5 separate regions of the Homo sapiens genome follow, and regions 1, 2, 3 and 4 are each linked to region 5. Evidence: promoter capture Hi-C in human tissues and cell types (Jung and others, 2019). All regions are on one chromosome and are shown on one strand. Each heading gives the region's core, a stretch centred on a gene start or on the middle of the fragment in contact. The rest is flanking DNA. Distances are from core to core; before and after follow the strand shown. Region 1 has its middle 11 kb from the start of S100B. Region 2 overlaps DIP2A (disco interacting protein 2 homolog A). Region 3 has its middle 31 kb from the start of S100B. Region 4 overlaps DIP2A (disco interacting protein 2 homolog A). Region 5 holds the start of LSS (lanosterol synthase).

Region 1 (4,396 bases), core at 320-2,819, 360 kb after region 5:
TTCTCCATTAAACCTCTTCCCTTTGTAAAGCCTTTCCTTTGCCCAGTCTTTCCTTTGCCCAGTCTTGGGTATGTCTTTATCAGCAATGTAAAAATTGACTAATACAGTAGATTGGTATTCAGTAGAGTGGGGTGCAACTTAAAAGATACCCAAAAATGTGGAAGCAACTTTGGAACTGAGTAACAGGCTGAGGTTGGAACAGTTTGGAGGGCTCAGAAGAGACAGAAAATTGTGGGAAAGTTTGGAACTTCCTGGAGATTTGTTGAATGGCTTTGACCAAAAGCCTGATAGCGATATGAACAATAAGGTCCAGGCTGAGGTGGTCTCAGATGGAGATGAGGAACTTGTTGGGAACTGGAACAAAGGTGACTCTTACGTTTTAGCAAAGAGACTGGTGGCATTTTTCCCCTGTTGTAGAGATATCTGGAACTTGGAGCTTGAGAGAGATGATTCAGGGTATCTTGCAGAAGAAATTTCTAAGCAGCAAAGCATTCAAGATGTGACTTGGGTGCTGTTAACGGCACTCAGTTTGATAAGGGAAACAGAGCATAAAAGTTCAAAAAATTTGCAGCCTGACAATGTGGTAGAAAAGAAAAACCCACTTTCTGAGGAGAAATTGAAGCCGGCTGCATAAATTTGCATAAATAACAAGGAGCTGAATATTAATCCTCTAGACAGTGGGGAAAATGTCTCCAGGGCATGTTAGAGGTCTTCACAGCAGCCCCTCCTATCACAGTCCTGGAAGCCTGGGAGAAAACAGTTTCATGGGCCAGGCCCAGGGTCCCTGTGTTGTGTGCAGTCTAGGGGCTTGGTTCTCTGCATCCCAGCCACTCCAGCTGTGACTGGAAGGAGCCAAGGTGCAGCTTGGGCTGTTACCCAAGGGTGGCGGCCCCAAGCCTTGGCAGCTTCCACGTGGTGTTGAGCCTGTAGGTGCACAGAAGTCAAGAATTAAAGTTTGGAAACCTCCACCTAGATTCCAGAAGATGTATGGAAATGCCTGGATGCCCAAGCAAAAGTCTGCTGCAGGGGTGGGGCCCTCACGGAGAATCTCTGCTGGGGCAGTGCAGAAGGGAAATGTGGGGTTGGAGCCCCCACACAGAGTTCCTCCTGGGGCACTGCCTAGTGGAGCAGTGAGAAGAGGGTCACAATCCTCCAGACTCCAGAATGGTAGATCCACAGACAGCTTGCACTGTGGGCCTGGAAAAGCTGCCGACACTCAATGCCATCCCATGAAAGCAGCCAGGAGGGAGGCTGTACCCTGCAAAGCCACAGGGGCTGAGCTGCCCAAGACCATGGGAATCCACCTCTTGCCTCAGTGTGATCTGGATGTGAGACATGGAGTCAAAGGAGATCATTTTGGAGCTTTAAGATTTGACTGCCCCACTGGATTTCAGATTTGCATGGGGTCTGTAGCCCCAGCATTTTGGCCAATGTCTCCTATTTAGAATGGCTGTATTTATCCAATGCCTGTAGCCCTACTCTATCTACGAAGTAACTAACTTGCTTTTGATTTTGCAGGCTTATAGGCAGAAGGGACTTGCCTTGTCTCAGATGAGACTTTGGACTGTGGGCTTTTGAGTTAATGCTGAAGTAAGACTTTGGGGGACTGTTGGGAAGGCATGATTGGTTTTGAAATGTGAGGACATGAGATTTGGGAGGGGCCAGGGGTGGAATGATATGGTCTGCCTGTGTCCCCACCCAAATCTCATCTTGTATTCCCATGTGTTGTGGGAGGGACTTGGTGGGCAGTAACTGCATCATGGGGGCAGGTCTTTCCTGTGTTGTTCTCATAATAGTAAGTCTCACAAAATCTGATGGTTAGTATAAGGGAGAGTTTTCCTGCACAAGCTCTCACTCTGTCGTTGCCTGCTGCCATCCACATAAGATGTGACTTGCTCCTTCTTGCCTTCTGCCATGATTGTGAGGCTTCCCCAGCCACGTGGAACTGTGAATTCTCCATTAAACCTCTTTCCTTTGTATGTTGCCCAGTCTCAGGTATGTCTTTATCAGAAGTGTGAAAATGGACTAATACAAGGACTTGGGGAAAGGGTGGGAAGGGAGTGAGGGATAAAATACTATAAATAGGGTGCAGTGTATATTGCTCGGGTGATGGGTACACCAAAATCTCGCAAATCACCACCAAAGAACTTATTAGTGTAACCAAACACCACCTGTTTCCCAATAACCTATGCAAATAAAATAAAATTTAAAAATTGCTACAGAAAAGGAAAAAAAAACCTGAATGCCAAGCTCCAAATCTCAGATAAATCCATGGACCGGATTGAGAACCTCTCTTCCCATTTGATGTGCTTTCCTCTGATTGACCCCCACCCTTCACCTATTTTACATATACCTACCCTTCCCTAATTGTTTTTTTTTACATTTTTACATTGTTGTTTCCATCTTTGAGTGGTGCCTTTGTTTTAGCCTTTTTTGCATACTCACAAACCAATCACCACACACTCCCCCATTCTGAGCCCATAAAAGCCCCAGACTTGGCCAGGTGCGGTGGCTCATGCCTGTAATCCCAGCACTTTGGGAGGCCGAGGTGGGCAGATCACAAGGTCAGGAGATTGAGACCATCCTGGCTAACACGGTGAAACCCCGTCTCTACTAAAAATACAAAAATTAGCCAGGCGTGGCAGCATGCGCCTGTAGTCCCAGCTGCTGGGGAGGCTGAGGCAGGAGAATAACATGAACCCGCGAGGCGGAGCTTGCAGTGAGCTGAGATCGCACCACTGCACTCCAGCCTGGGCGACAGAGCGAGACTCCATCCAAAAAAAAAAAAAGGCCCCGGACTCAGCCACACTTGCAGGGACTGCCCACCTTCAGGCACAGGGAGGACTACCTGATTTTGGGTAAGGGTAGTGCACCCAACTCGTGTCCCCCTCTCTGCTGAGAGCTGTTTTGTCACTCGATAAAATTCTCCGCCCTGCTCACTCTTTGGTTGTCTGCATAACCTCATTCTTCTTGGACGCGGGACAAGAACCTGGGACCCGCTGAACAGCAGGTGCAAAAAGGAGCTGTAACACTGTAGCCCTCCTTTACTCCCCTGATGCCAGCTGGCCCATGCAATGGGAGTGTTGGTGGGGCCAGGCCAGCCTGGGAGCCATGGGCCAGAGTGGGGTGATGGGAATAACTGAACAGAGGTCCTGCTGGCTAAAGAAGCTTCCAGCTGGCAAAGCAGCAACAACAACAAAAATCCTGCATCAACCTCGGTAAACACAGAAAAAGCTTTTGAAAAAAATCCAAAACCCTAAGAATATAAGGGAAATTTACCTGATAAAGGGCAACTACAAAAACCCACAGTTAACATACTCAATGGATACTTAATGGATCCTTCCTCACAACTGAGATCAGGAACACCCAGGGGCTGGGGATTTCACAAGATGTGAAGACCAGTAGGAAAGGGTGGGGTGCACTTTAGTGCACTATCTGCACACCACCCAACACTCCTACTTTCTTGAATGAGGAGACTGCAGTCCAGAGGGGCCTGGCTACTGTAAGCCTGGGCAAAGGCAGTGATGTCCCTGCTCAGGAATCCTTGGGTATTAGAGAAGCTGAGGCCTTTTCCACTCTCTGCCTTGCACAGTCAACTCTTGAGTGAGGGGGCTGGTACACCCAGAGGATGGTCACAATTCCTCTAGAGGTATAATCTAGGCAGACAGTGCTGTCTTGCTGATCTGGTGTTATTAACTTCCCTGAGGAAAAAAATCACCTGAATTCTTGTTTGATCAGTCTCACAGCTAAAAACCCCAGGGAGTCATGGTCCCACTTCAGACCTGGGGGGCCTGGTACTTGGGATATGTAGCAAGATCCCAGCAGAGTTTTGTGCAGTGAGCTGTAGGGGGCCATGGGACCCAATATGCCCTCTGCAGTGTCCCCCACCCCCTCACAGAAGAGGAAAAGTTCAGGAGTGGCCTCCTGAACACCTGAGACGCACCTCAGGGATCTGTATTTTAAATTAGGGGTGCTGGGGTAAGAAGACATAAGAAAAGCTCCTTCTAGCCCAGCCAAGTCTGGCCTCCTTCCTGCAAGGTTTAGATCCTGGGGGCTTTGGGCTATTTTCCTGAGAAGAATGCCAACCTCATCCTCAGCTCTCTGCTCAACATCCAGCCCTGTGTAAAAGCTCTAGGCTTGCCTCATGCTAACTTGCTTGAATAATGTGTATTTTCTGCACTCCTTCAGAGAGAGGCCAGCCCTTTTCTCCCTAAATGCAGTGAAAGGAGGTTGTGCCATTGTCTTGCCTGCCAGGTTGCTGGTGGACATGGCTGTAAGGGTCATAATTAAGGGGGGTCTCAGGACAGAGAGGCCAGGCATCCCTTGTGCTCACCCACCTGGTCCCCAAGGCAGCCCAGTTCTTGGTAAAGAAATACTGCCAGGCAATAGCTGGGCT
Region 2 (4,728 bases), core at 1,592-4,091, 270 kb after region 5:
GGTCAGTAATAAGCTGCTGCGGCCCCTGTGCCAGCAGAGCGGGGTCAGGAGTGTCCAGGACAGAGGAGCAGATGGAGGGCACCTGAGCCAGGCGCCACCCTGCAGACTTAGCTGCAGGCCTGAGTGCTCTCCAAGTGACTGAGGTCACACAACCCAGATAACCCATACTGGCTTATCTGCCTGAGACATTAAATTGATTTTGAGCTTTTAATAATTGCACTTGAAAGAAATGGGCTAATATTTGGTTAATTCATCATTCAGATTAAATCCCTAATAACCTTTTGAACAATACAGCTCAGTTGCAAATTTTTTCCCCCATCAAGACCTACGTATTTTTCATCTGGGAAATGTCCTTTTGGTAACAAAAGTAGTTGTTGATACTTCTTTAATTTGGCAGTCCTAGTCCTTTGGGGCATGGGGCATTTCTCATAGTCCCCCAGAAGGGTGTGGTGTTTCTCAGTGTCATAACACCTTCCTGCTCTTGAGGGGAAGCTGGTGCATGCAGTAGGTGCAGGGGTAGATGGTCAGCACACATCCATACCTGCTGGTGGCTGTGATCATCACCCTTGACCTGGCCGCCTCTCTGTTGTCTGTGCCTTTCCTCTTGGCTATGTGTTCACAGCTGCAGGCCCATTGGTTGTCTCTGTACCTGGCTGGAATTCTGAGGTTGGGGTAGAGGGCTTTCGCTCCTCCAGATACCAGGTTAGACAGCCTTTGGCCTGAAAAGGTGTCAGTCAGAGCTAATCATATGATGCATGGATCTTTCCCAAATCATGGAATCCTTTAAATTACATTCATCTTAGAGATGAAAAAAGTGTAAACCTTTCATCCTTTGAAATTCTATTTTTTAACTAAAACAGCAGCATAGTTAGCTGTATGTAGCTGGCATGTGAAACCCACATACACTCTTGCACAAGTACCTTAAAATACAATCAGTATTGTTGAAGACTCATCTTAATCCCCTCCTTTTTTTCCCAGATGAGGAAGGAAGAAAAAAAAGTCCAGCGATTGTAACTTGCTTGAGATCAGACAGCAGCCTTAAGTGGTGAAGCCAGGGCTGATACCAGTTTTCTTGATTCCTATTCATTTTCTTTGCTTTTTGTTGCTTTTCTGCCAAAACTGAAAGGTGACACCTGTGACACGCTGGTGTTTGTGCTGGGGTCCCCATGGGTGCCGAGCTCTTTTTTGTAAGACCTCGGTCATTTGGCTGGACTGGGGGCAAGTTGGGTATGTTGGGTGGCCCACAGCTTCTGTCTCATCATCCTCTGTAGTGTGCATCACTGTTGCTCTTCATGTTTTTGTTTGTTTGAGTCAGCACATCTCTTGTGTTTCCATTGAACATGTGTCCTTCTTCTGAGGCGTCCGTCTCAGATGAAAGCTCACAGTGCCCTGCTCTGTCTCCACACTGCTTCCAGCTCATAAAGGAACTGCCAAGACTACAAGGGTAGCAGCAGGCAGCATTTTCCACAGAGAAAGTTTCTCTTAGGAAAACAGCCTGCTCAGATTGTTTCTGTAGCTTTCCTGGGTGTTCCATGGCCAGAGGCTGCTGCCCACCTTTCCTCAAGGTGGTGTACAGTCCATATCTTGAAAACAGCTTTTGCACTGTTGTTTGCCTTCTCTGTTCATCGTTGGTGATTTAACTTTGTAGAAATACATAGTTAACTCCAATTCTGAGGCAGGGGCAGGAAAACAGTAGTTTTAAATGTTCTGTTACCTCATTTCTTCTCCCAGAAGCTCCTTTCTAGGTGAGATGGTGCAGGAGAGCAAACAAAACATTTGTAGTTTGAGTTTATTAGCCATTGCTGAGTCATCTCAACACTGTTTCCGGGTGGGTTAGAAATAAAAGCTTATTCAGCATGAAAAATTAGCCACAGTTCAGAATGTTTAACCGTACAGCCCTCAACTTTCCAGTGATTGTGGGGTGTCTTTAAGCAAAGCATTGAACTCTAATGTGTGTTTGAATTAGATGTTTTCATTCTCTGAAAAGGACTTGGCTGCAATTATTTATAATGTAGGTTTATTACCTATGTTGGTGGAAGACAGCTCCTGACTCCTGCAGATGCAGCTGTAATCATCTCTTCCTTTCTTGTTAGTCCTAGCATCAACATTTTGTGATCAATTCTAATACATTTAAAAAAAATTCTTAACTTGGACTTGATTTAATACTTTGCTTACAGGATTGCAATTTTCTACAGATTGTAGCTACCCACATCCTAAATGTTGGACATAGTTAATTTGAATTTCTAAATCTCAAAAATACTCAACTTCCCTCTTATGACAGAAATCATCCTTTGTTTTAGTTTCTAACACTAGATGTGTCTTCAATTTAAACTAAGGAAAGAAACATGAAAAGAGGAAGAATATATTAAGTAAAAAATTCGAGGTAGAACATATCAGGTAAAGATAATTTTTAAAAATATATCACTTTCAGTTTTGGATTAAGGAAATCAAATACATTAAGCCTTTTTTATACAAATGTAAATACCTATTTTTAAAAGCAGTACTTTTAATTATAGTAGCTTCTTTTAATTATAGTAGCTTATTTTTATTTTGAATGTAGTTTATGTTTATTTTTATGCAGCTTTTTTTTTTATTTTTCCACCTAGAGACAGGGTCTTGCTCTGTCACCCACGCTGGAGTACAGTGGCATGATCATAGGTCACTGCAGCCTTGAACTCCTGGGCTTAAGAAATTCTCCCACCTTAGCCTCCTGAGCAGCTGGGACTATAGGCAAATGCCAGCATGCCTAGCTAATTTTTAAAAATTTTTTGGAAAGATGGAGTTTTTACTGTGTTGCCCAGACTGGGCTTGAACTCCTGGGCTCAAGTGATCCTCATGCCTTGGCCTTTCAAAATGTTAGGATTATAGGAATGAGCCACTGCTCCCAGCCATTATATAGCTGTTTTAAAAAACTACTTGTAGTACATGTATGTATACCATGTATACCTTTTTTTCCATATATACTTTTAAAATCATTTATTCTTTTTGCTAGATTTGGAAGAGTGGGGAAATTTCTTTTTAAACTAAAAGAACCTCCTGATAGACATACTTTAAAATGCTAATTTGATCAGCATCAGGCTTTTTCAAGGGTTGTGAAAAATCTTAACGGTTTAGATTTTTTCAAAAGGTATATTCTGCTATGCAGACAGTGAGTTTGTGCTTTCATATACTTCAGCTTTCTACAAACCTAGTAAAAAGTTACTGCTTTACATTGTACCTAGGAGTACCACAGTGATACTAACAGGTACCTTCATTAAAATATTAAACATTACCAGTTGTCTCTACCTAACATAGACTAGTGTTTATTTATTTATTTTTTTGGAGATAAGATCTCACTCTGTGGCCCGGGCTAGAGTGCAGCGGTATGGTCCTAGCTCACTGTAACCTGGAACTTCTGGGCTCCAGTGGTCCTTTCACCTCAGCCTCCTAAGTAGCTGGGACCACAGGTGTCCACCACCATGCCCAGCTAATTTTTTTTTTTAAGAGATGGGAGCTCACTATGTTGCCCAGGCTGATCTCAAATTCCTGGGCTCAAGTGATCCTCCTGCCTCAGCCTCCCAAAGTGCTGGGATTATAAGTGTGAGCCACTGCACAGCTAGTGTTGATTTTTTTTTTTTTTTTTTTTTTTTTTTTGTGACAGGGTCTCACTCTGTCCCCCAGGCTGGAGTGCAGTGGTGCAATCTTGGCTCACTGCAACCTCCACCTCCCGGGTTCAAGCGATTCTCCTGCCTCAGCCTCCCGAGTAGCTGGGATTACAGGCATGCACCACCACGCCTGGATAATTTTTGTATTTTTAGTAGAGACAGGGTTTCACCGTGTTGGCCAGGCCATTCTCGAACTCCTGACCTCAGCTGATCTGCCCGCCTTGACCTTCCAAATTGCTGGGATTACAGGTGTGAGCTACCATGTTGGCCCCTATGTTGATTCTTATAAATGGGCGAGCATCTGTGTATTCATTGTTGTGGTAGAACACAATTTCTATAGTCATATAGACACAGTGCCTTTCCTAGTGGTAGACCCAATTATAACCATAATTCCTATAGGAACTTACAGTCAGCCAGCATTCTGAACAGATAGATGGACTGTACCATGGAAATAAAACACAAAAATGTACATTCAGACAATGGAAGGAGTGACTTTTACATATGTTCCAGATCTAATGTCTGTTTTTAAATGTTACACCAATTCTACTTTAAGAACTTGATTGTGGCCAGGCGCGGTGGATCACACCTGTAATCCCAGCACTTCAGGAGGCCGAGGTGGTTGGATCACTTGAGTCCAGGAGTTCAAGACCAGCTTGGCCAATATGGTGAAAACCCGTCTCTACTAAAAATACAAAAATTGGCTGGGTGTGGTGGCACATGCCTGTAATCCCAGCTACTTGGGGGACTGAGACAGGAGAATTGCTTGAACTCAGGAGGCAGAGGTTGCAGTGAGCCAAGATTGTGCCACTGCACTCCAGTCTGGGCAGTGATAAAGTGAGACTCCATCTCAAAAAAAAAAAAAAAAAAGGAACTTGATTGTGGTCTCTTAGTTTTGCAGCTGTTTTAACTGGCAGTGGGGGAAGTTTTAATTTCTGTAGTTTTATTCTTTTAGGACTGCAAAGGTTTGGTGTCCAACATACTTTTTTGGGGGTTGTAGTAGTTTGTATGATCCTGGCTGTTTTTTTCATAATGTAACAAAAAAATGTACCAGTGACAATTGATTTCAAATTTGTTTCTGCTTCCT
Region 3 (4,792 bases), core at 2,178-4,677, 350 kb after region 5:
GGTGCCAAAAAGGTTGGGGACTGCTGCTCAATAAGATTATCAGCAGATTGCTCATCAGAAACTAGAGGCCAGAAGGTAGTGGGCCAATATATTGAAATTTAAAGTAGTTTTTTCTAATTCTGTGAAGAAAGTCAATGGTAGCTTGATGGGGATAGCATTGAATTTATAAATTATTTTGGGCAGTATGGCCATTTTCACGATATTGGTTCTTCCTATCCATGAACATGGGATGTTTTTCCATTTGTTTGCATCCTCTCCTATTCCCTTGTGCAGTGGTTTGTAGTTCTCCTTGAAGAGGTCCTTCACATCCCTTGTAAGTTGTATTCCTAGGTATTTCATTATCTTAGTAGCAATTGTGAATGGGAGTTCACTCATCATTTGGCTCTCTGTTTGTCTGTTATTGGTGTATAAGAATGCTTGTGATTTTTGCACATTGATTTTGTATCCTGAAACTTTGCCGAAGTTGCTTATCAGAGTAAGGAGATTTTGGGCTGAGATGATGGGGTTTTCTAAATATACAATCATGTCATCTGCAAACAGAGACAATTTGACTTCCTCTTTTCCTATTTGAATATGCTTTCTTTCTTTCTCTTGCCTGTTTGCCCTGACCAGAACTTCCAATACTATGTTGAGTAGGAGTGGTGAGAAAGAGCATCCTTGTCTTGTGCCGGTTTTCAAAGGGAATCCTTCCTAGTTTTTGCCCATTCAGTATGATACTGGCTGTGGGTTTGTCATAAATAGCTCTTATTATTTTGAGATATGGTCCACCAATACCTAGTTTATTGACAGGTTTTAGCTTTTAATAATAAAGTTTATAATGTAAAAAATAAAAAATTTTTAGAGAAAAAAGTTTATAAAGATGTCTAAAAATGTTTTGCACAGTTGTACAATGTGTTTTAAGCTAAATGTTTTTACAAAATAGCCAAAAACTTAAAAACATTTGAAAGTTTATAAAGTTACAGTAAGCTAAGGTTAATTTATTATTGAAGAAAAATTATGTTTAGTGTAGTCTAAGTGTACAATGTTTATAAAGTCTATAGTAGTGTACAGTAATGTCCTAGGCCTTCACATTCATTCACCACTTACACCCAAAATAACTTTGAGTTCTACCAGCTCCATTAATGGTAAGTACTTACTATGATTTGAGTGACCCCCAATGTGGCAGTATTAAGAGGTGGGGCCCTTAAGAGGTGATTGGATTAATCTATTCAAGGATTGATAGATTAATGGATTATCATGGGAATGGGGCTGATGGCTTTGTAAGAAGATGAAGACCTGAGCTAGCATGCTCAGCGCCCCCACCATATGATGCCCTGCACTACCTTGGGAGTCTGCAGAGAGTCCCTACCAGCAAGAAGACCCTGACCTGATGTGGCCCTCAACCTTGGACTTCTCAGCTGCTATAATTCTAAGAAATAAATTCATGTTTTTCTTATAATGTAGCCAATTTCAGGTGTTCTGTTATAAGCAACATACAATGGACTGAGTGCCCTGTACAAGTGTACTGATTTTAATCCTTTATACTGTATTTTTACTACCTTTTCTAAATTTGGACATGTGTTTAGATATACAAATACCAGTGCATTACAATTGCCTACAGTATTTTGTACAGTTACATGGTGGACAGGTTTGTAACCCAGGAGCAATAGGCTATATCATATAGCCTAGGTGTGTTGTAGGCTAGGTTTGTGTAGATACATATACACTGTATGTTGTTCCCCCAATGATGAAATCACCTAAAAACACATTTCTCAGAACATATTTCTGTTGTTAAGTAATGCATGGCTGTATGCACAAAAGGAAGTGAGAAAGGGATTTAAATGTTTCATTAAAAAAAAACACAGAAGGGCGCAATACAAGAAATGAAAGAGATATAAGGCATATAGAATATGAAGTGACAGAAGTAAGTCTCTCCTTATTGATAATTACTTTATCTGTAAATAGATTAAATGGACAGAGATTGGCAGAATGGGGAAAAAACAGGATCTAACTGTATGCTGTCTACAAGAGACTCACATCCAAAGACACAGTATTAATATATTGAGAGTGACAGGATGGAAAAATATATTCACTGGGCACAGTGGCTCATGTCTGTAATCCCAGCGCTTTGGGAGGCTGAGGCAGGTGGTTTTCTTGAGCCCAGGAATTTGAGACCAGCCTAGGCAACATGAAGAGACCACATCTCTACCAAAAAAATACAAAAATTAGCTGGGCATTGTGGCTTTCTCAGGAGGCTGAGGTGGGAATATTCCTTGAGCCTGATGGGTGGAGATTGCAGTGCACCAAGATCACAACACTGTACTCCAGCCTGGGAGACAGAGTAAGACCCTCTCTCACAAAAAAAAAAAAAAAAAAAAAAAAAAAAAAAAAAAAAAGATATTCCATGCAAATAGTAATCAACAGGGAGCAGAGGTAGCTATAATAATATAGTTTAAATAAAAAATGATTACAAGAAATGATGGACATTAATAAAAGATTCAATTCAGCAAGATGTAACAATTGTAAACATTTACACATACAATGACAGATCATCAAAATATATGAAATGAAAACTGACAATAGAAGGGAGAAAGGAGAAATAGACAGTTCTATAATAATAGTTGGAAATGTCAGTGCCCTGCTTTGAATAATGGATGGAACAATAAGACATAAGTAAGGAAATGGAGGCTTTAAACAGCACAACAAACTAACTAGATCTAACAGACATATGCAGAACATTCTACCCAACAATAAAAATAGAATACACATTCTTCTCAAGTTCACATGGAACATTTTCCAGGATAGACAACATGTTAGGCCACAAATTAAGTCTCAATAGATTTAAAAATATACAAAGTCTCTCCTTAAACCAAACTGGGATAAAGTTAAAAATCTATAGCAGAAGGAAAACTGAGAAAATACAGAAATTAGTGAAAATTAACACACTTTCAAACAACCAATGGATCAAAGAAGAAATAACAAGAAAAATTAGAAAATACTTGGAAATAAAAACAATGTACCAAAACTTATGGGACCCAGCAAAAGCAGTGCTAAAGAAGCAATTTATAGCTATAAATGCTTACATTAAAAACCAAGAAGGACCTCAAATTAACAAACTAACATTACAACTTAAGAAACTAAAAAAGAAGAACAAACTAAACCCAAAGTTAGCAGAAGTAAGGATTAGTGCAGAAATAGATGAGAGACAATAGAAAAACAGAGAAAATCAAGAAAGCCAAAAATGGTTTCTTTGAAAAGATCAACAAAATTGACATTTTAGCTAGATGGACCAAGAAAAAAAGAAGACAGATTACTAAAATCAGAAATAAAATTGGAAACGTTACCAATTCTACAGTAATAAAAAGCATTAAAAAATACTATGCACAATTGTATGCCAACAAATGGAAAAACCTAGAATAGACAAGTTCCTAAAAACACAAAACATATCAAGACTAATCATGAAGAAATAGAAAATCTGAGTAGACTTATAACTAGTAAGGAGATTGATTTAAGTAATAAAAGATCTATTGACAAAAACCTGATGGCTTCATTGGTGAATTCTACCAAACATTTAAATAACTAACACTAATCCTTTTTAAACTTTTTCAGAAAGTTGAGGGAAAACTTTCAAACTTACTCTATGAGGCAAGCATTATCCTGATACTGGAACCAGTCAGACACTACAAAAACAGAAAACTACAGACCATGATTCCTTCTGAACATTGATGTAAAAATCCTCAATAAAATACTAGCAAACTGACTTCAGCAGCATATTAAAAACACTATATAGCATTACAAAGTGGGGTTTACTCCTGGAATGTAAGGATGATTCAATATATAAAACAATCAATGTAATAAACCATATTAATGGAATGAAGGGGAAAAACCACATGTGATCGTCTCGATTGATGCAGCAAAGGCATTTGGCAAAATTCAGTACCCTATAATGATTAAAGAAAAAAACAACTAGGAATAAAAGGAAACTACTTCAACATAATGAAGTCCATATATGAAAATCCACAACAAACATCATACTCAGTAGTGAAAATCTGCAGAAGCTTTTTCTGATAAGATCAGAAACACAGCAAGGATGACTGCGTTTGTCACTTCCACTCAACACAGAACTGGAAGCTCTTAGAGCAATTAGGCAAGAAAAAAAGGATTCTAAATTGGAAAGAAACAATTCAAATTATCTCTGCCAATGATATAATCTCATATGTAGAAAGGCCTAAAGATTCCACAAAAAAAAGTAGCACTAATAAATTTAGCAACATAGCAGGATACAAGGTCAACACACAAAAATAGTTGCATTTTCATACACTCACAATGAACAATTCGAAAAGGAAATCAGGAAAACAATTCCATTGACAATAGCATCAAAAAATATTTAGGAATTAACCAAGGAGATGAAAGACTTATAAAATGAAAAGTACAAAACATTGAATGGAAAACATCGAACAATACAAAGAAATAAGTGGAAAGACATCTTATGTTCATGGATTGGAAGTCTTAATATTGTTAAGATGTCAGTACTACTCAAAGCCATCTACAGATTCAAGGCAGTCCCTATCCAAATTCTAATTATGGTTTTTGCAGAAAGACTAACTCATTCTAAAATTGATATAGAATCTAAAGACACTCTGAATAAACAAAGCAATTTTGAAAAAGAAAAAGCTGTAAGACAGTTCTCCAAATAAGATATACAAAAGGTATACACCTTTGAAAAATGAAAGCAAAATAAGGACATTCTTAGATAAGCAAATTTTGTTGTTGGCTGACATCACCATAAATACTAAAGAAAGTCCATCAGACT
Region 4 (4,442 bases), core at 807-3,306, 290 kb after region 5:
GACTACAGGTGCACAGCACTACGCCCAGCTAATTTTTTCTTTCTTTCTTATTTTCTTTTTTTTATAGAGATGGGGTTTCACTGTGTTGTCCAGGCTGGTCTTGAACTCCTGGGCTCAAGTGACCTGCCTGCCTCAGCCTCCCAAAGTGCTGGATTACAGGCGTGAGCCACCATGCCTGGCCTTTTTGATTGAATATTGTATGTTGTGTATAAAAACATTATGGCAGGTCCAGACAATGCCATCTTCCTTAAGAGAAACCTCTTTCCCCTCCAAGTAGAGTAGTGGCTGGCTGGTCGCTGCAGTCCAGTCATGCCTGGCCCAGCCGGCCTTTGCTCTCCTCTGGCTCTCCTGGGCTTTCTGCCAGTGCCTGGTGTGTCCATGTGTCTCTTTCCTCTGATGGCTTCCCAGCCGTGGCGTTGGTCTCCTCGTGGCTTCTTAACAACCCCATTCTGCTTTTCAGAGGTTTTCCACATGGGCTCTTGGTCTCCTGCTGCACACAGCCAGAGGATTCAGCACATGTCCTGCAGGAGGTGGCTGTGCTCTCGAGACTCCTAGCCTCTACCAAAAGCTCTGCAGGTTTCTTCATGTCCTGGTGGGACTGCTCCAGGTGGATACTCAGCCCCCCGTGGGGGCTGGAATCCCTGAACATGGACAGCGTAAAGACAGCTGCAGCTCAGCTCACTTTCCGGAGGGTTTTCCCTCTCTGGAATCTTAACTCCTCTAGTTGTCTTTGCTGAGCAGCAACTTGCTGCCTCCAAAAGATCATTTCTGCATTTTATTCAGTTTTTAAACTCATCTTAGGCAGGAGTGCTGGTCTGCCACCAGTACCCTCTCCTACTCGGAAGCAGAGTCTTCCACCATTGTGCTTTTAAAATTCATCCATGTTATTGCGGGTAGTTGTAATTCATTTATTTCTGTTGAGGAATGAATATATCAGAATTTACTTAAGCATTATGCTGTTGCTGGAATACATGGGCTGTATCCAGTTTTAGCTACTAGAAACAGTGCTCCCAGGAAGATTCTGGTGTGTGCCACGTGGTAGCTAAGCATATGTTTCTGAAGGTTGAGTACTTAGGAGTGGAAGTACTAGGTCTAGGGTTATGGGCACCTTCACATTGCTGAGATGGCATCACCGTTCTCCAGTTCACCCTTGGCCCATCAGTGTGGGTGGGCCCTACCTGCTCCCCATCATTATCAGCACTTGGTATTGTCAGGCTTATGAATTTTAGCTACTCTCGTGAGAATATGGTGGTATTTCATTGTGGTTTTAATGTGCATTTTACTGATAACTAAATAGATTGAGATCTTTCCTGTCATTTTAACTTGCTCTTTTGTTAAGTACCCCTTGAATCTTTTACACATTTTTTCTGTAGTGAACGGCTGGGCACGGTGGCTTACATCTATACTCCCAGCACTTTGGGAGGCTGAGATGGGTGAATCACTTGAGGCTAGGAGTTTGAGACCAGCCTGGCCAACATGGCAAAAGCCTGTCTCTACTAAAAATACAAAAATCAGCCGGGTGTGGTGGCATGCGCCTATAGTCCCAGCTACTCGGGAGGCTGAGGCATGAGAATTGCTTGAACCCAGGAGGTGGAGGTTACAGTGAGCCAAGATTGCACCGCTGCACTGCAGCCTAAGTGACAGAGCGAGACCCTGTCTCAAGAAGTATATGTAAATAAAATGAAAACAAGTTTATTAAGAAAGCAAAGGAATAAAAGAATGGCTACTCCATAGGCAGACCAGCAGCTTGGGCTGCTGGACTAAGAATACTTAGAGTTATTTCTTGACTATATGCTAAACAAGGGGTGGATTATTCATAAATTTTCTGGGAAAGGGGTGGGCAGTTTCTGGAACTGAGGGTTCCTCCCATTTTAGACCATCTAGGATAACTTCCTGACGTTGCCATGGCTGCTGTAAACTGTCATGGCACTGGTGGGAGTGTCTTTTAGCATGCCAATCATTGTAAGTAGTATATAATGAGCAGTGAGTTCAACCAGAGGTCACTTACATTGCCATCTTCATTTGCGGGGACTTGGCCAGCTTCTTCACCACACATGCTGTTTTATCAGTAAGGTCTTTATGACCTGTATCTTGTGCCGACCTCCTATCTCATCCTGTGACTTAGAATGCCTAACTTCTGGGGGTGCAGCCCAGCAGATCTCAGCCTTATTTTACCTAGCCCCTATTCAAGATGGAGTTGCTCTGGTTTAAACGCCTCTGACATATTTCCCCTCTCTGTTTTATGAGAGAAGCCTTAATTCTAAAGGTTGTAGAGGGACAAAGATTCATCTTCTATAACTTCTTCAGGCTGAACAGGAGTGATGACATTCCTGCCTAACTATTAGGGTCTTTTATATTTGAGAAAGAAAGGAGCTAAGTCAGAAAGCATCAGTATGGTGAGGGCCATTCATAACGCCAAGAAAATTTGGTATCTGGAAGATTAATAAGTGTTCAGTTTAAGAAAACATTGAGTAAGCTTATCCTGCATTCCTACACAGAGTACAACAGCAATATATTCCACAACAGTAAAACAAAATAAGTAAAATTATCCCAAGTAAATTAAATAGGGATTTTCATGAACTGGGTAACTGTTGGAACTAAGATGATATGGGATTGCTAGCTGATTCCAGTGTGCCCAGAATTAGAATATTGATCTAGATTTTTTTTTTTTTTTTTTTTTTTTTTTTTTTTTTTTTGAGATGGAGTCTTGCTCTGCTGCTCAGGCTGGAGTGCAGTGGTGCGATCTCGGCTCACTGCAAGCTCCGCCTCCAGGGTTCACGCCATTCTCCTGCCTCAGCCTCCCAAGTAGCTGGGACTACAGGCACCCGCCACCACGCCCGGCTAATGTTTTGTATTTTTAGTAGAGACGGGGTTTCACCATGTTAGCCAGGACGGTCTCGATCTCCTGACCTTGTGATACACCCATCTCGGCCTCCTCAAGTGCTGGGATTACAGGCATGAGCCACCGCACCCAGCCTGATCCAGATTTTTACATTACCCATCTCTCTTGTTTCTCTCTACTTTACTCAATTGTTAAAAGCTGTAAATAGCTCAAAAGAGAAGTTTTCTTGGCTCTGAAAAACAAAACAAAGAATCAGCAACAATTTAAGCAAAAAGTCAAAACAAGTTACTTCTGTTTTCTACTGGTTCTATTAGTCCTATTAGTTCAGCTCATGTCAAAACAAGTTACTTCTGTCTTCTATTAGTTCTGTTAGTCCTATTAGTTCAGCTCATGCAGTTAACTCCTGTTCGATATTCATGAACATTTTGGCTCTCCATGAGAGTCCTGAAAGTTTTTCCTCTATTCTAATGTCGCAACCTCCAAAGTTATCAGAAACCTGCATTCAAAAACACCTGTTAGAGTTCTCTAGTTGATTATAAAACCACCTTCTAAAGAGGACCCAAACAAGACAACAATTTTGTATGGATGACAGAATGCCTTAGGGCAGCCTCTACAAAAGCCACAATTGACTAGGAATTTTGATTACTTCTGTGACATGGAACAATTTAACATACCAATTATATTAATAACATGTACTGTCATATCAGAGTTATAGAAGTTTCACACGATTTTGGAACACAAACCAATAACATATTTATACAAATATAGCCCAAAGAAAGCCACGCATCATTTCATATCTGACAGTGCTTGCTGTGTGATTTTTATACCAAATAAGCTGAATATGTCATTTTTTGGACTTGAGAGGACCTAATATCTAAAAGATTAATTAGGTCAGGAAAAGGCAGAATTTAGAGTATGATGTTGGAAAGTTTGTCAAATATTAAAGGTTTAAACGCTTGATATTACAAAATAGAATCCCAGGTCACCATAAGTCATTCATTTACCCAAAATGATAACTCAAAAATTTTTAAAAGGCAAAATCCTTTACTCATTAATAGAAGGAAGACTTAGCTTTCCAAATAATCTGTCTCCTTTCTTTCCCTTCTTTTTCCTATAGTTTATTCAAAAGGCAAACAAAAATCTTTGTTTTCTTTTCTTTTTTTTTCCTGAGACGGAGTCTCACTCTGTCACCCAGGTTGAAGTGCAGTGGCGTGATCTCGGCTCACTGCAACCTCCGCCTCCTGGGTTCAAGCAATTCTTCTGCCCCAGCCTCCTGAGTAGCTGGGACTACAGGTGTGCACCACCATGCCTGGCTAATTTTTGTATTTTTAGTAGAGACCGGTTTTCACCATGTTGGCCAGGCTTATCTCAAACTCCTGACCTCAAGTGATCTGCCTGCCCTGGCCTCCCAAATTGCTGGGATTACAGGCATGAGCCATTACACCCAGCCATCTTTCATTATTTTTTTAATATAAAAATCCTGCTCAAGGGAGAAAGCAAAATTTCACCATTGCATTAGCGCATTATTGATGTCAAACCCAATTCTTAATAAAACCTTGTAGACAAATCTATTCAACCATAAGGTAAGATTCTCATAAAC
Region 5 (4,612 bases), core at 1,408-3,907:
CAAGAGCGAACGCTGTCTCAAAAAAAAAAAAAAAATACAAAAAAACTCCAACTCACAGCCAGCCCACAGGAAGGGTCCCAGCCAGCTAAGCCCAGAGCCAAAGCAGCAAGAACAAACAACACAGTAATCCCCACTGACCAAGCACCACTGCATGCCTGACACTGTGCACATGACCAAACCTGATTCCAATCCTGTCACAGGTCAGGCTACAGAGGCAAAGTGGGGCTGACCCATCTCCTGACCAACTCTATGTCATTGCCTTACCACGAGCCCTGAGAACAGTCTAAACAGGCCCTGATGGGGCCAAGGGAAGAAGAGCACCTTGACTTCCCCTAAGGACAGGCCCTCAAATCCCAGGACAGAAAAACTCAATGCTGTACAGTCCAGGTGGCAGCAGGGCTAGAAGTCAAAGCAGAGATGGGGATCCCAGTGCTCCTCCTGCTAGTCTGGTTACCTGGAATAAATGTGCCTCAGCTTTCTAATGTATCTCATTAGGCTTATTCTAAGGACTAAAAGAAGAACAGGCCTTGAGCAGGGCTTGGCCTACAGTAAACACCATGGAACTGTTTTTAACGTTAAAGGCCAACTCTTCCCAAACTAACATATAAGCCTATTGCAACTTCATTTCAAGTCTGGGACAAAATCAGGATAAAGGCAATTTGGATGAGTAAATGAATAGACACAGGTAAGAGATGTTTTAAAAAGAAAGGCAACAAAGGTATATAAGGACTTTCTATCTATTACAAAGTCAGCGTAGTAAAAGAAAATGATGTATCAGTAAGAGTTATCACAGAAACAAAACCTATTTATGTAGGAATTCACGTCATTGAAACAATGTGATTACAAGTCACTAGGGAAAAAAGTCCTATTGCATAAATTCATAGGAGGGAATTTCCCATTTTACAAGGCTGAGGATTTCTGTAGAGAAACACTCCCAGGATGCAAAATAGTCTTGTGTAGCCAAATCAGTTCAATACCCAGGCAGTCCAACTGCTATGCTCCTCCTACTCACCAGCCTGAACCTGAAGCTCTCCTGCAATAGCCCCGAGGAAGTTCACAGCAGATATCAGCTCCCCACCCACCACTCTGCCCACCTACAGCCCCTTGGCATAGGCTGGGCCTTCCACCTGGAATGTCCATCCCATCCTGTACTGAGACTTCAAAGCCCACCTTCCTCCTCCCTCAAGGCAACACAGAGCCCTAGAGAACCACTTGCTTCTCTTATCAGAGAGCCTGTCACCCTACACTGGCAAGGCTAGCTGATCCCCTAGACCAATAGCAGGACGACTCTGACATAGGGCAGAGTTTGCCAGCCCTTTTCTTGTGAGCCCCTGGATTTTCACCTGCTTCATCAAAACCCTAGACCAGGCTGGGCCAGGATCCCAAGGGTGATCCAGGGTGGCCATACCATCAGGCTGGGGCAGCATACTCCTACCTGGCAGGAGGAAAAGTGGGCCACCATAATCACCCGTCCAGTGCCCATCCTCAGCCTGCAGCCCCACGTAAAATGTCATCCCGTTCAGAGCCCCCTCAAAGGCGGTGTGGGCTTTGGGCAAGTCCTTAAAGTAATTCTTCTGCAAAGAGATCGAAAAAAAAAAAAAGAGATAGCTGACGGGACTGTTGCCCGGCCAGAGGAACCCTCTTCACATACAGCCCAAGTCAAAACAGTGAATGTAAATTACTTTAAAAGTTTCAGCTGTTTCCATCAAAAGTCTGAAACTCTTTGATGAGAGCATCACACCTCAGCAAAGTAAAAGAACAGCTGCACATTTTCGTTGCTTTATTTGCCAGTCATGTATTCTTCACAACTTCTCCAAGATGTCTGGAATAAACCAGGCACCCAGACTGTAGGGTGGGGCACGGGTGCCGACCTGGGCCTGGGACTCGGGCCTCTCAAAGAGGGCCCAAGGGGCGGCACAGCCTTTCCCTCGGTGGCCGGGGCTCGGCAGGAGACCCTGTTTACACTGCAGACTCTGACGACCAAAATCTCTTACAATGCACACAACTAAGACAGTGGATCCAAACACTTTTTGTGAATAAAAACAAAGTTACAACTATCTTTGCAACTCTCCTATAAGTCAAAAATTATCTCAAAATAAGGTGCTAAAAAATAAAACATTAGGAGTCTCCTATGCGTGGTTTAGAGATGAAGGGGCTGAAGCGGAGGGGCCCGCGAACGCAGTTCCCGTGGGCGCTCGCCTTGGGGATGGGCGTCGCTGGCCGGGTCCTCCCACCCGCCTTTCTGAGAGAAAACGTGCTCCTCACGGCTCACCCCTCAGGGTCCCGAGCTCGCTGACGCTCCGCGGAAGCAACTTACGGTGTCCAGCCCCAGGGCGTAGGCTTCCAGGCCGGTCTGCTCGCGGCCGGCGCGCTCGTCCTGCAGGTAGGTCCACGTCTGCCGGCCCCTCTCGCAGTTGAGTCGCCAGCGGCCGAGGTCGGTGGCGGGCTCGGTCTTGTAGGGGCCCCCTCGGCGCCGCAGACACCTGAGGACCACCGGCCATCAGCGACCCAGGCCCCGCCCCAACGCCGGCCGCCGGCCCACTGCCCCAGTCGCGCTCTCCTCAGCACCTAGGACCACCCCGCATTCGTCAGGAGCCCGGGGCGAGGGGACTCACGTGCCCTCCGTCATTGCTGCTGCAGTGCTCTACGCCGCCCACTGCCAGCTGCCAGATGTCCGCACCCGGGACCTGCCGCCCAGCCCCGCCCCTCCCGCCCCTCCCGCCCCTCCCGCCCCTCCCGCGCGCACTACGCAGGCGCAGGCCTCGGCAGGCGCTCAGGCTTAGGTGGGCCGACGCCCACGCAACCAATCAGAGCGCCGCGAGCGTGACCCCGGGGTGTGCCAGGCGACCACAGTGGTGGAGCGCTTGGTGCCCCATGCGGCGTGGGGCGGGGCCTGAGGGAGCGGGGATGGTGGGTGAAGGCGACGGGACGGGGGAGGCGGGTGGGGCCTTATTGGCGGGGCATGAGGGGCGGGGCTGGTGGGTGGGGAGGTGGGGGCGGGGCTGGTGGGTGGGGAGGTGGGGGCGGGGCCTGGTGGGTGCGGGTGGGGGCGGGGCTGGTGGGTGGGGCCGAAGGGCGGGGGCGGGGCCTCTCGCGCGCCCTCTAGAGGCTTGCGTCCCGGGAGCCCGGCCTCGTGCGCCGCGCTTTGAGGTGAGCCTCTCTGAGAAATTTGTGAGGAGGGTCCAGCCGCGGGTCGGAAGGAAGGACGTGGGGAGCGAGGCTCGAGCGAGCGACAGCGAGTGCGAAGGTCGGGTGGCAGGGAATTGCTCTCGCGCTGCAGGATTTGCCCGGACGCCGGGGCCGGGGGTGGGGGCGGGAGGCCGCCCTGAGGTGAGGTGGGCGCGGGCCGTCGGCTCCAGTGCGAGACCAGGGGGAGGGCGGGGCGGAGCGGAGGAGCCGAGGGCGCCGCCGGCGTCCCTGGGAAGCTGAGCGCCGCGTAGCTTCGCCGGGGGGAGTGGGGTAGGCGCGGTGAGGCCGTGGGCCCCCACACCTGGCGGACCACAGGGGCCAGAAGCCCTGGAGCCCCGCCAGGGAAGGGCTGCGTCGCTGGCCAGGACCGAGCGCGGTAGAGCCTCAGCTGCTCACGGGGTCGCTGGAGTTGGGGGTGGCCCCAGGAGAAATTAAAGGTGAAAAGCCTTAGCAGCAGAGGGAAGAGGAAGATGGAGGCAGAGCGAGTGACCGAACTTGGAAGGGACAGCCGGGCGCAACAGGGCAGGGGGCGTCTGACTGTTGGAAACATGGCTGACGTCTGGAGGCTGCAGCCAGTGGTCCGTAAGTCAGGTCAAGGACCCACAGAAGACCCCAGCATGTCTTCACCTGGCCCACAGAAGCCCTGACATCCAGTTACAACTGCCCCAGCCTAGTGAGCATTTCGGCACCCACTCCTCAATTCCTACCCCCAGCCTAACTTCGAAGGGGCGGTGAGCCACAGCAAGCCGGAGGAGAAAGTTGGAAGAGAGAGTGGACAAAAGAATACCCACAGGCACCTTCCCCACAGTGGAATAGCGGGGTTTTAGACAATCAAGGATAATCACCTCTTCCTATCCCAGTTCAGAAACGGATGAAAAAGACACAGCAATAAGATGGGTGGGTATCAAAATATCAGCTTTGCCACAAATTAAAAACCTAGCTTGAAGGACAAGGCTTAAATCTGCAAGCAAGAGGGCAAGCTACTAAATCACCCGTTAAGTCAGACAAACATATCCCCCAGCCTCTAGGCCATGAAACTGCCTCACCAAGCACTATGCAATTGAGTGCCCACCAGAAGACACCCCTCCAGTCAACCCACAGACCCCAGAAAGAGTACCCAGAGGAGCCTGAGCACACTCCACCCTATCTGTTCTCTGAAATTCAATCAAATGAGTCACTCTACTTCTCTGGAAGCAGAAAGAGGCTGGAAGTTTTTCTCCAGGTAAGTTCCTCCATGTAGAAACATGAAGAATAGGGATAAGGGGCTTCAGCCTGGATGGAATCTCACACTGAACCTGGCAAAGCTAGGTGAGGGAAGAGGTTTCAACTGGATAAGAGTTTGAGTTTTGATATCTTAATGGACTGGACTTTTTATGAGTAAAATAATCCGCTCTTTTTAATGTCTGAAAGAAAAGAAAAAGCT

The links. The method cuts DNA at HindIII sites, captures the fragments that hold promoters and counts their contacts. A contact is called where the count stands out against the background at its distance.
Region 1: a contact is called between a fragment that was not itself captured here and the fragment with the promoter of LSS in region 5, in 2 of the 25 tissues and cell types used here (dorsolateral prefrontal cortex and spleen).
Region 2: a fragment that was not itself captured here is called in contact with the fragment with the promoter of LSS in region 5 in 2 of the 25 tissues and cell types used here (IMR-90 fibroblasts and lymphoblastoid cells).
Region 3: a fragment that was not itself captured here is called in contact with the fragment with the promoter of LSS in region 5 in 1 of the 25 tissues and cell types used here (dorsolateral prefrontal cortex).
Region 4: a contact is called between a fragment that was not itself captured here and the fragment with the promoter of LSS in region 5, in 1 of the 25 tissues and cell types used here (lymphoblastoid cells).

Annotation. Positions count from the first base shown.
Region 1 is chr21:46,591,514-46,595,909 of GRCh38, forward strand. No RefSeq gene overlaps it. Among named protein-coding and RNA genes, the nearest start is that of S100B, 11 kb to the right of the region's middle. The HindIII fragment of the contact is 3,264 bases long and covers 1-3,201 here.
Region 2 is chr21:46,498,833-46,503,560 of GRCh38, forward strand. It overlaps DIP2A (disco interacting protein 2 homolog A), which reads left to right. Exons shown (of 38, transcript NM_015151.4): 5 at 1. Among named protein-coding and RNA genes, the nearest start is that of DIP2A-IT1, 39 kb to the left of the region's middle. RefSeq lists an enhancer at 1,600-1,739. The HindIII fragment of the contact is 5,234 bases long and covers 225-4,728 here.
Region 3 is chr21:46,571,309-46,576,100 of GRCh38, forward strand. It overlaps a transcript of DIP2A not described here. Among named protein-coding and RNA genes, the nearest start is that of S100B, 31 kb to the right of the region's middle. The HindIII fragment of the contact is 3,898 bases long and covers 1,479-4,792 here.
Region 4 is chr21:46,517,197-46,521,638 of GRCh38, forward strand. The region is part of intron 8 of DIP2A (disco interacting protein 2 homolog A); the gene reads left to right. Among named protein-coding and RNA genes, the nearest start is that of DIP2A-IT1, 57 kb to the left of the region's middle. The HindIII fragment of the contact is 7,528 bases long and covers 1-4,442 here.
Region 5 is chr21:46,226,117-46,230,728 of GRCh38, forward strand. It overlaps LSS (lanosterol synthase), which reads right to left and starts at 2,658. Exons shown (of 22, transcript NM_002340.6): 1 at 2,616-2,658; 2 at 2,318-2,483; 3 at 1,436-1,574. The coding sequence starts at 2,629. MCM3AP-AS1 (MCM3AP antisense RNA 1) reads left to right here and starts at 3,115. Exons shown (of 4, transcript NR_110565.1): 1 at 3,115-3,150; 2 at 4,211-4,411. RefSeq lists enhancers at 1,913-1,982, 2,699-2,993 and silencers at 2,413-2,462, 2,523-2,692, 2,703-2,962, 3,023-3,462. The HindIII fragment of the contact is 14,795 bases long and covers 1-4,612 here.